Regions from separate parts of the Homo sapiens genome. Here regions 2 and 3 are each linked to region 1. The links are contacts of gene promoters, found by promoter capture Hi-C in blood cells and fetal thymus (Javierre and others, 2016). All regions are on one chromosome and are shown on one strand. Each heading gives the region's core, a stretch centred on a gene start or on the middle of the fragment in contact. The rest is flanking DNA. Distances are from core to core; before and after follow the strand shown. Region 1 holds the start of IFT52 (intraflagellar transport 52). Region 2 has its middle 100 kb from the start of JPH2. Region 3 overlaps TOX2 (TOX high mobility group box family member 2).

Region 1 (4,344 bases), core at 1,300-3,799:
TATTTTCTAAAACAATACTAAAAACATCAATGTTAAACAACATGTTTTTCTGCAATTTGCATATTTGTAGAGATTCTTATCTATTGAATGGCTGAGTAAATCATTTCCAAATTGCCCTCCAAAAAGTTATACTCATTTATATTTCCACTAACACCCTTCTGTTTCCACACAATCCTATTTCCAGTCTTTGTCATGTTTGCCAATAAAGGGCCAAAAAACCCCCCTCATTACTGTTTTAATTTCCACTTTGAAGTTAGTGAGATAGTTGTCTCTTGCTATAGATTTTTGCCACTTGTATTTCTTCTGATTTTCTTGTCCAGGTACTCTTGATCATTTTTCTCTTTAAATTTTTCTTTTTAAAAACTTCTTCTTATTATTATTATTTGAGATAAAAGTCCCACTCTGTGACCCAGGCTGGGAGTGCAGTGCTGCAATCACAACTCACTGTAGCCTTGACCTCCCAGGCTCAAGCAATCATCCCACTTCAACCTCATGGGTAGCTGGGACTACAGGCGCGCACCAGTGTCCAGCTAATTTTTAAATTTTTTGTAGAAGCAAGGTCTCGCTATGTTGCCCTTGAACTCCTGACCTCAAGTGATCCTCCTACCTCAACCTCCCAAAGTGCTGGTTTACTGGCATGAGCCACTGCACCCAGTCGGGTTTCATAATTTTCTAATTGATCATTAAACAAACATTTTCATAAGTTTATTTGGCTTCTGGTAGTTTTTTTGGTTTGGTTGAATTTTGCAGGCCATATAGATTTTAAATTTTATAGAGTTAAAAGTATGAATCTTTTCCTTCCTGGCTTCTGGATGACATGAAACACTTAGAAGAGTTTTTTGTCATTCTAAGATTATAAATAAATTCAACAATGCTTTACTTCAGTACTTCATGATGTAATTTTTTTTTTTTTTTGAGAGAGTCTGCTCTGTGGCCTAAGCTGGAGTGCAGTGGCACGATCTCGGCTCACCACAACCTCTGCCTCCCAGATTCAAGAGATTCTCGTGCCTCAGCCTCCCAAGCGGCTGGGACTACAGGCGCCCAAACACACCCGGCTAATTCGTGATGTAATTTTTTAACATTTAAATTTTAGTCCATTTGGAAATTATTGTGGTGCTCAAAATGGGCTTCATTCCTTTTTTTTTTCCTTCTTTTTCAAAGCATAGTCTTGCTCTGTCACCCAGGCTGGAGTGCAGTGGTGCAATCTCGGCTCGCTGCAACCTCCGCCTCCCAAGTTCAAGCAATTCTCCTGCCTCAGCCTCCCCAGTAGCTGGGATTACAGGCGCGCGCCATAGTAGAGACGGTGTTTCACCAGGTTGGCCAGGCTGGTCTGGAACTCCTGACCTCAAGTGATCCACCCGCTTTGGCCTCCCAAAGTGCTGGGATTACAGGTGTGAGCCACCTCGCTCGACTGGTTTAATTATTTTCTAAATTGCTAAAAAAGCTGCCTGACCCCAATTCATCTCTTCAATGCTGATTTGAAATACAGTACCACCTCGCCTATATAATAAATCCCTATATATAAATCGCTCTTATTCTGAGTTCTAATATATTTTATCTACCTGTAAGCTCCTGCTGAGTCCCAAACTTTTTAAATTAATTTATTTATTTTCAGAGACAGGGTTTCCTTTTGATACCCATGCTGGTCTCTGACTCCTGGGCTCAAGGGATCCTGCCGCCTCAGCCTACCAAGTAGCCAGGACTACGGGCCCACACTGCTGCACCCATCTTCTATGCTAGTTTAATTGCTATACCTTTATGTTATAATATCTGGTGGTTCTGGAGAGCTAATCTCCCTTATTAGCATTAATTTTAGAATTTTCCTGGCTACTTTCACATATTTATCCTTCTTTAAGCACTTTAACATCATTTTGTCCAGTTGAAAAACTGCCCCCTCCATGGTCCCACCACCGTGATACATCTATCTTTTTTTGTTCTGTTAGTTCAGCCCCTGGTGAGAGTAGCAGGTCTGCGTTCCTGTACTGTCAGACTTAGCCAGAAATGCATTTCCTTAATAATAGTATAAGGCCTTTAAAACTATAAAAATAACAAATATTTGGGTAACGCTGCCAAACCATTCTCTCGCTTTCTCTTCAATAACATTACCAGTCAAATCAGTATTTTCCCACATGAATACCGAGGGGTCGCAGCCACGACAGAAGAGAGATTAAGACTGTACGATTCCTCGTCCCATGCTCTTTCATAGTCAGCGGAACGACTAAACACCTGCACCACCCGAGGCCGTGGAGATGGGCGCCCAGCCGGGGCGCCAGGAACCCGGGCTACGTCCGCGCCCACAGTTTACTTCACCCCGGGGGACCCTGGATGTTCTATGACCGGCCCAGCGGCCTCGAAGAGTGCGGCGAGTCCCTCGCCAGCTCCCAGGCCGCACCAACGCCCCAGCCGGCCCACCACTGTTGGCGCCCTTTACCTGAGGCCCAGCGACCACCGCTCACCTGACGCCGCCCAGCATCCCGCGGCCAGGTATCCAAGGCCGCTTAGTAACCGGAGAGGCGCGTCGGTGCGCCGGGAGGCGTGGCCCAGGACGCAGCGCTAGCTCCGGCCGACGTGATGACGACAGCACGGAAGGCGCCTCTCCGTCGCAGGCGTCAGGGGTAGGCAGCCTGACTGATGTGGGGCTGTACCATTTGGTGCATGAGGGGCAAATCCAAACATAAGGAGAATTAACTTTTCACCAAAAATAAACCCATTTAATTTTGTTCTTTAGTATCAATTACGAGTAAAGACTAATAACAACGGTAGGACCCAAGTGCCCAAACTTCGCTCCACCCACAGGGAGGAGAATAGTGAAGGCTTCCAGCGCGGGGGGGTTGGAGAACGCCCCAGCTTCGATTCCCAAAGCGCAGGAGCAGAGTGGAGCCAGGCGAGGGCGGGGCCGGGCGGAAGGCTGTGCTGGACTATTAGGAACTACTTAACGGAAAAGGGTGCGCAGGTTTAGTGTTGAGAATGATAAACCGTATAATTCTGTTTTATTAACTCCGCATCTTTGCTTGCCATGGTACTAGGCTTGAGCGCCGGCGAGCATGGCGGGGAGTTAGAACTTGAATAGATTCTACAAAAATGTGAAAACTATGAACTGTATTAGGGAGTCTAACGACTAAGCTGGTCAAAAAGGCGCCCCTGTTGAGCAGAGATTTGAAGAGAGAGTGGTATTCATTAAGGCAAAGGCTGGGGAAGGGCGTTCCCGGCAGAAAGAACTGCTTGTGCAAAAGCACCACCAATACAGGTTGCCCTGCCATCGCCATTAAGATGGGAAACCAGAAGCCTGCAACTACCAACAGGCCACCCGACTACCCAGGAAAGCGCTCTGTGCCTGCCTTTAGAGGTGTGTGGATTTGTGAACAACGCTGCAGCAGCCTGGAAGACCCAAACTGAAGATTGCAGAGAGCTCTGACAGTTTTTATTTACATTTATGTTTGTCTTCGAATCTAGGATATTAAAACACATACAACTCGTGTTGCTTTCCACAATTTCTGTCACTGGAAATTTTAAAAGTGGAGACGGGCCGGGCGCAGCGGCTCTCTCCTGTAATCCCAGCACTTTGGGAGGCCGAGGCAGGTGGATCTCTTTAGCCCAGGAGTTTGAGGCCAGCCTAGGCAACATGGCGAAACCCGGTATCTACTAAAAATAGGAAAAATTACCTGGGCGTGGTGGCGCGCGCCTGTAGTCCCAGCTGCTTGGGAGACTGAGGTGGGAGGATTGATTGATTGATCCTAGGAGGTTGAGGCTGCAGTGAGCCGTCATGGTGCCGCCGCACTCTAGCCTAGGCAACACAGTGAGACCTTGTCTCAAAAAGAAAGTGGAGAACAGGGTGATTTGAGAATTCTCTTTGGTCAGATGAAGTGGCTTCTGCCTGTAATCCCAGCATTTTGGGAGGCCAAGGTGGGAGGACTGCTTGAGGCCAGGAGTCTGGGACCTGGGTAACAGTAACACCTTTTCTCTCCAATAATAATAGTAATAATAAATAAAAAAAGAAAATTAGCCAGGCATGGTGGCACACACCTGTAGTCTTAGCTACTTGGGAGGCTGAGGTGGGAAGATCGCTGGAACCCAGGAGTTCGGGCTGCAGTGAGCCATGATCGCTCCACTGCACCCCAGCCTGGGCAACAGAGTGAGACTCTGTCTCTTAAAAAAAAAAAGTTCTCTTCTTGGGGATGCTGTATTTTGGTGCAGAATTGGGTGAATACAGTTTGCAGTTAGGGTAATAATGGAAATGAAGTATTCTCACTGAAGAGAGAGTAGGCCGTCCCATTTGAAGGCTGGGACAAATCTTGGGATCTTTCTGCCTGATATGCAGTCAGTGTTTGCTACAGCACCTGCCCA
Region 2 (4,344 bases), core at 1,078-3,577, 490 kb before region 1:
GCCAGCGATGTGGCCTATGTGCTCTGCCGCACTGCATTCCCTGGAAGGGTGGTGGCTGGTGTGCCCATGGCTCTGGCGGGAGTGGGCAGGGCTGCAGTGGAACAGTGCCTCAAGGATAAGTTGGGGCAGGATATGGGGAAGATAGGAGGACAGGACAAGGAATTTGGAATCCAGCAGCAGCAGCTACGTGCAGGGGGAGAGTTTCCTCTCCTTTCACACAAAGCTGGCCATGCACTTTCTATCCTAGATGAGCCAGCTGTACCCGTTCCAGCTGCAGCAATGGCATTGGGGCCAAACCAGTTTTTAAAAGGCTCTGGCTGTGGGAAGTGGAGAATCTGCTGCCAGCCAGACACGGCCAGGGTGTAAACTGGAAAAAGGCTTCTCTTCCTCCGGTCATTGTTTTTTACAGTAATTCTCCATCTTTGATATACAATATTTATGGGGTACATGTGATATTTTGGTACATGCATACCATGTATCATAATCGAAGCAGGGTAGTTAGGATATCCGTCACCTCTCCCCCAGGGATTGTTGGAGTCAGGATGGCATTGCACAGCCTGAACAATCACAGGTGGCCCTGGGGGCTGACTGAGGCGGAATGGGACGCTCACTCTAGGTGAATTGGGTGACAGTGGTCATGGCCAAAGTGTAAAGACGGAGTTCGGGGAAGGAGAGAAGGAGGGGGTAGGGGCTCTGGCACTGGGCCTTAAACAGTAGCATCCAGTTAGGAACTGCAGTTTCATAAACCAAGCTTCTTTTTATCATATTGCACACCAATAAAAAGTACAAGGGATTTGGGAGGCTGAGGCGGGTGGATTGCTTGAGCCTAGGAGTTAGAGATCAGCCTGGGCAACATGGTGAAACCCCATCTCTACTAAAAAATACAAAAAAACTTGCCAGGCATGATGGTGTAAGCCTGTAATCCCAGCTACTCGGGAGGCTGAGGCAGGAGAATGGCTTGCACTGGGAAGGTGGAGGTTGCAGTGAGCCAGGATCGCACCACTGCACTCCAGCCTGGGCAACAGAGCAAGACTTGGTTGCAAAAAAAAAAAGTCAAGGGATGGCTATACACAGCTGCAGGAATGAATCTCGTAAAATGGTGCTGAAGAAAAGCCAGACAGAAAAGATAACCATATATGAGTCCATTTATATAAAACGATAGAACAGGAGGCAAACTCAGTTTATGGCAATAACAGTTAGGGTGGTGGTTACCTGGGGAGGTGGTGTGGAGGGAGGTGGGTGAAATCACTGAGGAACAAGGGCACGTGGGAACTATTGGGGTGATGGAAACGTTCCATTTTGTTTTGGGTCATGGCTACAGAGATGGAGATGTGAAAATGTATCCTTTAAAAACAAACCAACCAAAAACAGCCCTTCTAAATCAGCATCCAGCGTGTATGCAACATACAAGAAATCAGGCAAATGCTATGTGGCTTCCTCCCAGGCGAACTCCGCTGCACACACAGGTGCCACGCTCTGTGCTTCACACACAGCTACCCCAGATGCCGCGTGTGCTCCCGCCAGCAGCCTGCCACACCGAGGCCACAATGTAGGTTTGGGGTTGGGCAGCGGAGGGTGCAGCACAGGGTGAACGTGTTCTCCCAAGCCTGTGGCATGGCTGGGGCTGCCAGCACTGGTTTAGGTGGGCAGGGGCTCTCCTGTGCTGCTCCAGGACTCAGGCGGGAGCCCATGAATCTTTACCTCTGCCACTCATGCAAGTTAGTATGTTTGCCCTGTTGCCCTTAGATGTGGCGTCTTTTTTTGCAGTGCCCAACCTAGACACATGTGCATTCATGTCTTGCCCGTTAGACTGCCCAGGGCAAACCACGTGGCTTCAAACCATTTTCCCACACTTCTCACCTGGTACGGGGAGCAGCTCTGTGGTGGTTTGAATTCAGCATCTCAAGTTGGCAACAAGTGTGCAGAAGCATCCAAAGTCACAGGTAACGCTCCATGGGGTCCTGGACCTGGATGCCAGCTTCTGACCCCCACCTGGGACTCACTTCATAAGGTAGAACACAAGGGATTCAAGGTTTCTGGGGGGCCAGGCACGTGGCTCATACCTGTCATCCCAGCACTCTGAGTGGCAGGAGGATCACTTGATCCCTGGAGTTTGAGACAAGTCTGGGCAACATTGCAAGACCCCCATCTCTACAAAAATAAAAATAAAAATTAGCCGGGCATGCATTGGCATGTGCCTGTAGTCCCAGCTACTCAGGAGGCTGAGGCCTCCCTTGAGCCTGGGAGTTCAAGCCTGCAGTGAGCCATGATTGCACCACTGCACTCCAGCCTGAGCAACAGAGTGAACCTCTGTCTCTAAGAAAAAAAAAAAAGATCTGGGGATTGTGGGTTGTGTCCTGCAAATCTCAAGGCAAGTTCCAAGTGATCCTGAAGCGGGAGACTGTCCCATTGGTGGCCCTCAGGGAGCCTGCTGCCGTTCCCACGCTTATACAGCCCCTGCCCTGGGAGCTGTGCTGATCCTGTTACTTACTTTAACCCAGTGGTTCTCAATCCAGGATGGCTTTGTCCTCCAGGGGACATTGGGCAATCTCTGGGGACACTTTTAGTTGTTGGGCCTGGTGGGGGTGCTACTGACAATGAGTGGAAGCCAGAGATTCCACTAAACATCCTGGAACACAGAGCAACCTCCTCCAATTCCTCTGCCCTCCGCAAACAGAGTGAGACCATTCCAGTGTCAATGGGGCCTACGCTGAGAGGCCCTGCCTTGCCGGATGAAGCATGGCGGGGTGATGCTCCGTCAGTTCTGGGATCAGCCTTTAAGACGCCGTTAGCTTCTGCTGCATCTTCAGGCCCCAGCCACCATGCAAGTGAGTTTCCCAGCACTGCCATAACAAGGTACCACAAACTGGGCAGCTTAAGGCAACAGAAATGTATTCTGTCTCAGTTCTGGAGGCTAGAAGGCCAAAATCAAGGTGTTGGCAGGGCTGGGTCCTTCTGGAGGCTCTGAGGGGAGAATCTATTCCATGCCTGTCTCTTGACTCCTGGCAGTCCTTGGCATTTCATGGCTGGTGTTGGCATAATTCTAGTCTCCTCCTCTATCTTCACATGGCCTTCGTCCCTGTGTGTATCTGTTTGTCTTCCAACCTCCTTAGAAGGACATCTGATGTTGGATTTAGGGCTTAACCTAATCCAGTATGACCTCATCTTAACTAGTTAACATCTGTGAAGACTTTGTTCTCATCTCTGCAGATATAACTAGTTAAGATGAGGTCATATACAACCATACATTAGGTCGTATTTTGAGGTTCTGGGCAGATATGAATTTTGGGGGTAGACTGTTCAGCTTGCCACACCATGTTAAGAAGTCCAATTCAGCTGGTCATGGTGTAATCCCAGCACTTTGTGAGGCTGAGGTGGGTGAATCACTTGAACCCAGGAGTTCAAGACCAGCCTGGACAACATAGTGAGACCCATCCTTTACAAAAAAAAAAAAAAATAGAAAAATTAGCCAGACATGGTGGCGTGTGCCTGTAGTCCCAGCTACTCAGGAGGTTGAGGTGGGAGGATCACCTGAACCCAGGGAGGTCGAGGCTGCAGTGAGTCGTGATCATGCCACTGCATGCTAGCCTGGGTGACAAGGTGAGACCCTATCTCAAAAAAAAAAAAAAAAAAAAGCCTGATGCCCCTAAGACCACCATGTGATGAGGGAGCCCAAGCTAGCTCCATGGACAGGCCACATGGATGGAGAAAGAAGAGAGACGCCCAGTCAACCCCAGATGTTTCAGTCATCTCAGTTGAGCTCTGGATATGGAGAGAAGCCGTCTTTGATGCTCCAGCTCCAGTGTCCTGTCGCCCTAGCCAACCACGTGGAGCAGGAGAGCCATCTAGTCAACCCACAGGTTTGTGAGATAGAATGAATAATCATTTTGACCCGTAAGCTTGGGGATCCTTCATTACACAGCAATTGATAACTGACATGAGGCCAGGGCTGAGCTGCTATTGACAGTATTGTCCACACTCTCACAGGTGAGATAATTCCCTCTCCCAGATCTGAGGTGTACCATAGGGCTGTACAGCCTCACGCCTGAGCATGGAACTCTAGTCTGGCCTAGAGAGCTCCTGCCTTCTCCCTCCTACGTCCCTGGCCACCCGCAGCCTCAGGATAGCCCCGGTCACGTTCTCTTCACCTGGCACTGATGTGAGGGACCGAATGAGCATCTTGCTGAGGGTTTCTTTAGAGGGAGTTGGGATGCCTGGCCTGGCAGAAGTTCTTTTGCCTCAGAAGCCTGCAAGAGGAGCTGGGGCAGAAGGGAGACCGTGGGTCTGCAGTGCGCAGCACAGGCCCCAGAAGGCGGGCAGCCAGCCAGGTAACTTCTCAAATGT
Region 3 (4,344 bases), core at 894-3,393, 470 kb before region 1:
AGAGCTTGGACTAACCAGAGATAGCACAGGGTCCTTAGTCCCCTTGGCTCTGACCATCCAGTCACCTACTGCTTTTATCTTTGGGGGGCTCCCCTGCCCTTGGGGGAATCCATGCTCCTCAGCCTGGCCAGTGAGACAAGCACCATCCCACTGAGCCAGCTCTAATCATGCTCCTTCCAACCTCTGTGCCTTTGTAGATGTTTTTCCCTTGACTTTGAACCACCTTTTACTTGGCCTGTTATAGACCAGTTTGGATGCCATCTCTTCTGTACCAGGAACAACACCCACCTCCACTTGGGCCACGCATCCGCAGCCACACTTAGCTTCCTACGTTGCTGGTGTTGACAGAGGAGGCCGACGGTGTGGTGAGGAGGTGCCATATTTTGGGGTAGCGTGTCCCAAGCCCCATCAGCGGTCAGAAGTGAAGGCCACATAAAACTGGCAAAACTGGGTTTGAATCCTAGTGCGGCCACTTTAACAAACTGGATCTTTTCAGGCAAGTTGCTCAACCCCTCTGGGTGCTGGGTTCTTGTTGGAAGAAGCCAATGAAATGCATGTAAAGTGCCCAGAATGAGCCTGGCATGCTGTAGGTGCCCTGCAGACATGACCATGTAGGTCTGAGCCATTCTTTCTAAGACCTGGGGTGCCGGCCCTTCCCACGGGCCCCAGTTCTTGCTCCATTCCTCAAGTGGCCCCACTCTGATCAGGGCTGTGCCTGGAGATTCCGGGTGTTACCTTGGAGACGAGGCTAGCCCGGTAGGCTGCCAGGGCCTTCAGATATTCCTTCTTTGCTGCTTCTGTCTTCCTCTTGTAGGCCTGGAAGAGTCAACACATGAGCAACACTGGGGAGAAAGTTACAGAGGAGATGCCGTGCAGGGTCCTGGGGTGGGAAGGCATGGATTCAAGGATCACGAATGGACGAGGGTGGTGGGGTCAGAAGCTGAGTCAGCCAGCCACTGGCCCCTTTCTGGGAGCGCTGCAGAGAAATTGTGGAGACCAGGCCATATCCCAGTTCCTCAGCCAAGTCACTGTGTGGCCTTGGCCAACATGCTTCATCTCTCTGGGCCTCCAGGTTCTATCAGCACAACTGATCACAGAAAGACAATGCCCTTTGAAGCCCCCATTCTGAGCCAGCACAGTGCAGATTTCTTAATGCCGAACCACCTTCGCAACCTAGAATGAACCTACTTGTTCATAGTATGTTAGTTTGGATTCGGTTTGCTAATATTTTTTATTAAAAATTTTAGACCTAGGTTCATATGTTATTGTAGGACTGGTCCCAGTTTGTTCGCACCTCCTTGTTTCCATGGCTTTTGGTAGAAACGAGGAGGTGCAAATGACTTGGAGCTTAGCCTTGTGTGACTTGTGTTGGCCAATAAGACAAGCACAAATGTGATGCATGCAGAGACTGACAAAGTGATCACATATTGGTGAGCCCTCTTGCTACTCTTGGAACTCTTATTTAAAAATTTTTTTTGTATATGAATAAGTTCTTTAATGGTGATTTCTGAGATGTTGGTGAACCTACCACCTGAGCAGTGTACACTGTACCTGATGATAGTCTTTTATCCTTCACTACCATCCTTTTCCCCAAGTCCCCAAAGTCCATTGTATCATTCTTATGCCTTTGTGTCCTCATAGCTTAGTTCCCACTTATGAGAACATACAATGTTTGGTTTTCCATTCCTGAGTTACTTCACTTAGAATAATTGTCTCCAATTCCATCCAGGTTGCTGCAAATGCCATTATTTCCTTCCTTTTTATGGCTGAGTAGTATTTCATGGTGTTTGTGTGTGTGTGTGTGTACATATATATGTATATGTGTGTGTGTGTACATATATATGTGTGTATATATATGTAGCACATTTTCTTTACTCATTGATTGATGGGCATTTGGGCTGGTTCCATATTTTTGCAATTGCAAATTGGGCTGCTACAAACATGTGCAAGTATCTTTTTTGTAAAATTTCTTCTCCTCTGGGTGGATACCAAGCAGTGGGATTGCTGGGTCAAACAGTAGATCTACTTTTAGTTCTTTGGGGAATTTCCACACTGTTTTTCACAGTGGATGTACTAGTTTATATTCCCACCAACAGTGTAAAAGTGTTCCCTTTTTGCCACATCCATGCCAACATCTATTTTTTGATTATGGACATTCTTGCAGGAGTAAGGTGGTTTTGATTTGCATTTCCCTGATCATAATGATGTTAAGTATTTTTTAATATGTTTGTTGGCCATTTGTATATTTTCTTTTGAGAATTCTCTATTCATCTCCTTAGCCCAATTTTTGATGGGATTGTTTTTTTCTTGCTGATTTGAGTTCCTTTGTAGATTCTGGATATTAGTCCTTTGTCGAAAGTATAGATTGTGAAGATTTTCTCCCACTCTGTGGGTTGTCTGTTTACCCTGCTGGTTCTTTTGCTGTGCAGCTTTTTAGTTTAATTAAGTCCCATCTATTTACCTTTGTTTTTGTTGCATTTGCTTTTGGGTTCTTGGTCATGAAGTCTTTGCCTAAGCCAATGTCTGTGGAAGGGTTTTTCCAGTGTTATCTTCTAGAATTTTTAGGGTTTCAGGTCTTAGATTTAAGTCTTCCATCCATTTTGAGTTGATTTTTGTATAAGGTGAGAGATGAGGATCCAGTTTCACTCTTCTACATGTGGCTTGCCAATTATCCAAGCACCATTTGTTGAATAAGGTGTCCTTTCCCCACTTCATGTTATTGTTTGCTTTGTTAAAGATCAGTTGGTTGTAAGGATTTGGCTTTATATCTGGGTTCTCTAATCTTTTCCATGGTCTATATGCCTATTTTTATACCAGTACCATGCTGTTTTGGTGACTATGGCCATATAGTTTGAAGTCGGGTAATGTGATGCCTCCAGATTTGTTCTTTTTGCTTAGTCATGCTTTGGCTATGAGGGCTCTTTTTTGATTCCACATGAATTTTAGGATTGTTTTTTCTAGTTCTGTGAAGAATGTTGGTGGTGTTTTGATGGGAATTGCATTTAATTTATAGATTGCTTTTGGCAGTATGGTCATTTTCACACTATTGATTCTACCCATCCATGAGCATGGGATGTGTTTCCATTTGTTTCATCTACGATTTCTTTCAGCAGTGTTTTGTAGTTTTCCTTGTAGAGGTCTTCCACCTCCTTGGTTAGGTATATTCCTAAGTATTTTATTTATTCATTTATTTATTTATTTATTTATTTATTTATTTATTTATTTTGCAGTTAAAGGGGGTTGAGTTCTTGATGTGATTCTCAGCTTGGTCACTGTTGGTGTATAGCAGATCTATTGATTTGTGTACATTAATTTTGTATCTTGAAACTTTGCTGAATTCATTTACCAGTTCTAGGAGCTTTTTGGATGAGTCTTTAGGGTTTTCTAGGTATATGATAATCCCATCAGCAAACAGTGACAGTTTGACTTCCTCTTTACTGATTTGGTGCCCTTTATTTCTTTCTCTTGTCTGATTGCTCTGGCCAGGACTTCCAGTACTGCATCGAATAAATGGGCATCCTTGTCTTGTTCTAGTTCTCAGGGGGAATGCTTTCAACTTTTCCCCATTCAGTGTAATGTTGGCTCTGGATTTATCATAGATGGCTTTTATTACCTTAAGGTATGTCCCTTCTATGCCGATTTTGCTGAGGGTTTTAATCAAAGGGATGCTCAATTTTGTCAAATGCTTTTTCTGTGTCTATTGAGATGATCATGTGGTTTTAAATTCTGTTTATGTGGTATATCACATTTATTGACTCGTGTATGTTAAACCATCCCTGCATCCATGGTATGAAACCCACTTGATCATGGTGGATTATCTTTCTGATACAACATTGGATTCAGTTAGCTAGTATTGTACTGAGGATTTTTGCATTCATGTTCATCTAGGTATACAATCATATCATCAGCAAACAGCAACACTTTGACTTCCTCTTTACAGATTTGGATGCTCTTTCTTTCTCTTGTCTGATTGCTCTGGCTAGGAATTCCAGTACTCTGTTGAATAGAAGTGGTAAGAGTGGGCATCCTTGTCTTGTTCCAGTTCTCAAGGGGAATGCTTTCAATTTTTCCCCATTCACTATAATGTTGGCTCTGGTTTATCATAGATGGCTTTTATTACCTTGAAGTATATCCCTTCTATGCTGATTTTGGGCATAGAAGGAATACTGGCCTGCAGTTTTCGTTTTTTTGTTGTTGTTATGTCCTTTCCTGGTTTGGGTATTAGGGTGATTGACTGGCTTCATAGAATAATTTAGGAAGGATTCCCTCTTTATTTTGTGGAATAGTGTCCTTTAAAAGTCTGATAGAATTCAGCTCTGAATCTATCTGGTCCTGGCCTTTTTT

Evidence for each region. The method cuts DNA at HindIII sites, captures the fragments that hold promoters and counts their contacts. A CHiCAGO score of 5 or more calls a contact.
Region 2: a contact is called between a fragment that was not itself captured here and the fragment with the promoter of IFT52 in region 1, in 3 of 17 cell types (neutrophils, endothelial precursors and M2 macrophages). The highest score is 8.5, in neutrophils.
Region 3: a contact is called between a fragment that was not itself captured here and the fragment with the promoter of IFT52 in region 1, in 1 of 17 cell types (neutrophils). The highest score is 5.1, in neutrophils.

The regions. Positions count from the first base shown.
Region 1 is chr20:43,589,142-43,593,485 of GRCh38, reverse strand. It overlaps IFT52 (intraflagellar transport 52), which reads right to left and starts at 2,549. Exons shown (of 14, transcript NM_016004.5): 1 at 2,432-2,549. RefSeq lists an enhancer at 2,358-2,427. The HindIII fragment of the contact is 15,646 bases long and covers 1-4,344 here.
Region 2 is chr20:44,083,492-44,087,835 of GRCh38, reverse strand. No RefSeq gene overlaps it. Among named protein-coding and RNA genes, the nearest start is that of JPH2, 100 kb to the left of the region's middle. The HindIII fragment of the contact is 3,148 bases long and covers 754-3,901 here.
Region 3 is chr20:44,061,249-44,065,592 of GRCh38, reverse strand. It overlaps TOX2 (TOX high mobility group box family member 2), which reads right to left. Exons shown (of 9, transcript NM_001098797.2): 6 at 736-816. Among named protein-coding and RNA genes, the nearest start is that of JPH2, 120 kb to the left of the region's middle. The HindIII fragment of the contact is 7,560 bases long and covers 1-4,344 here.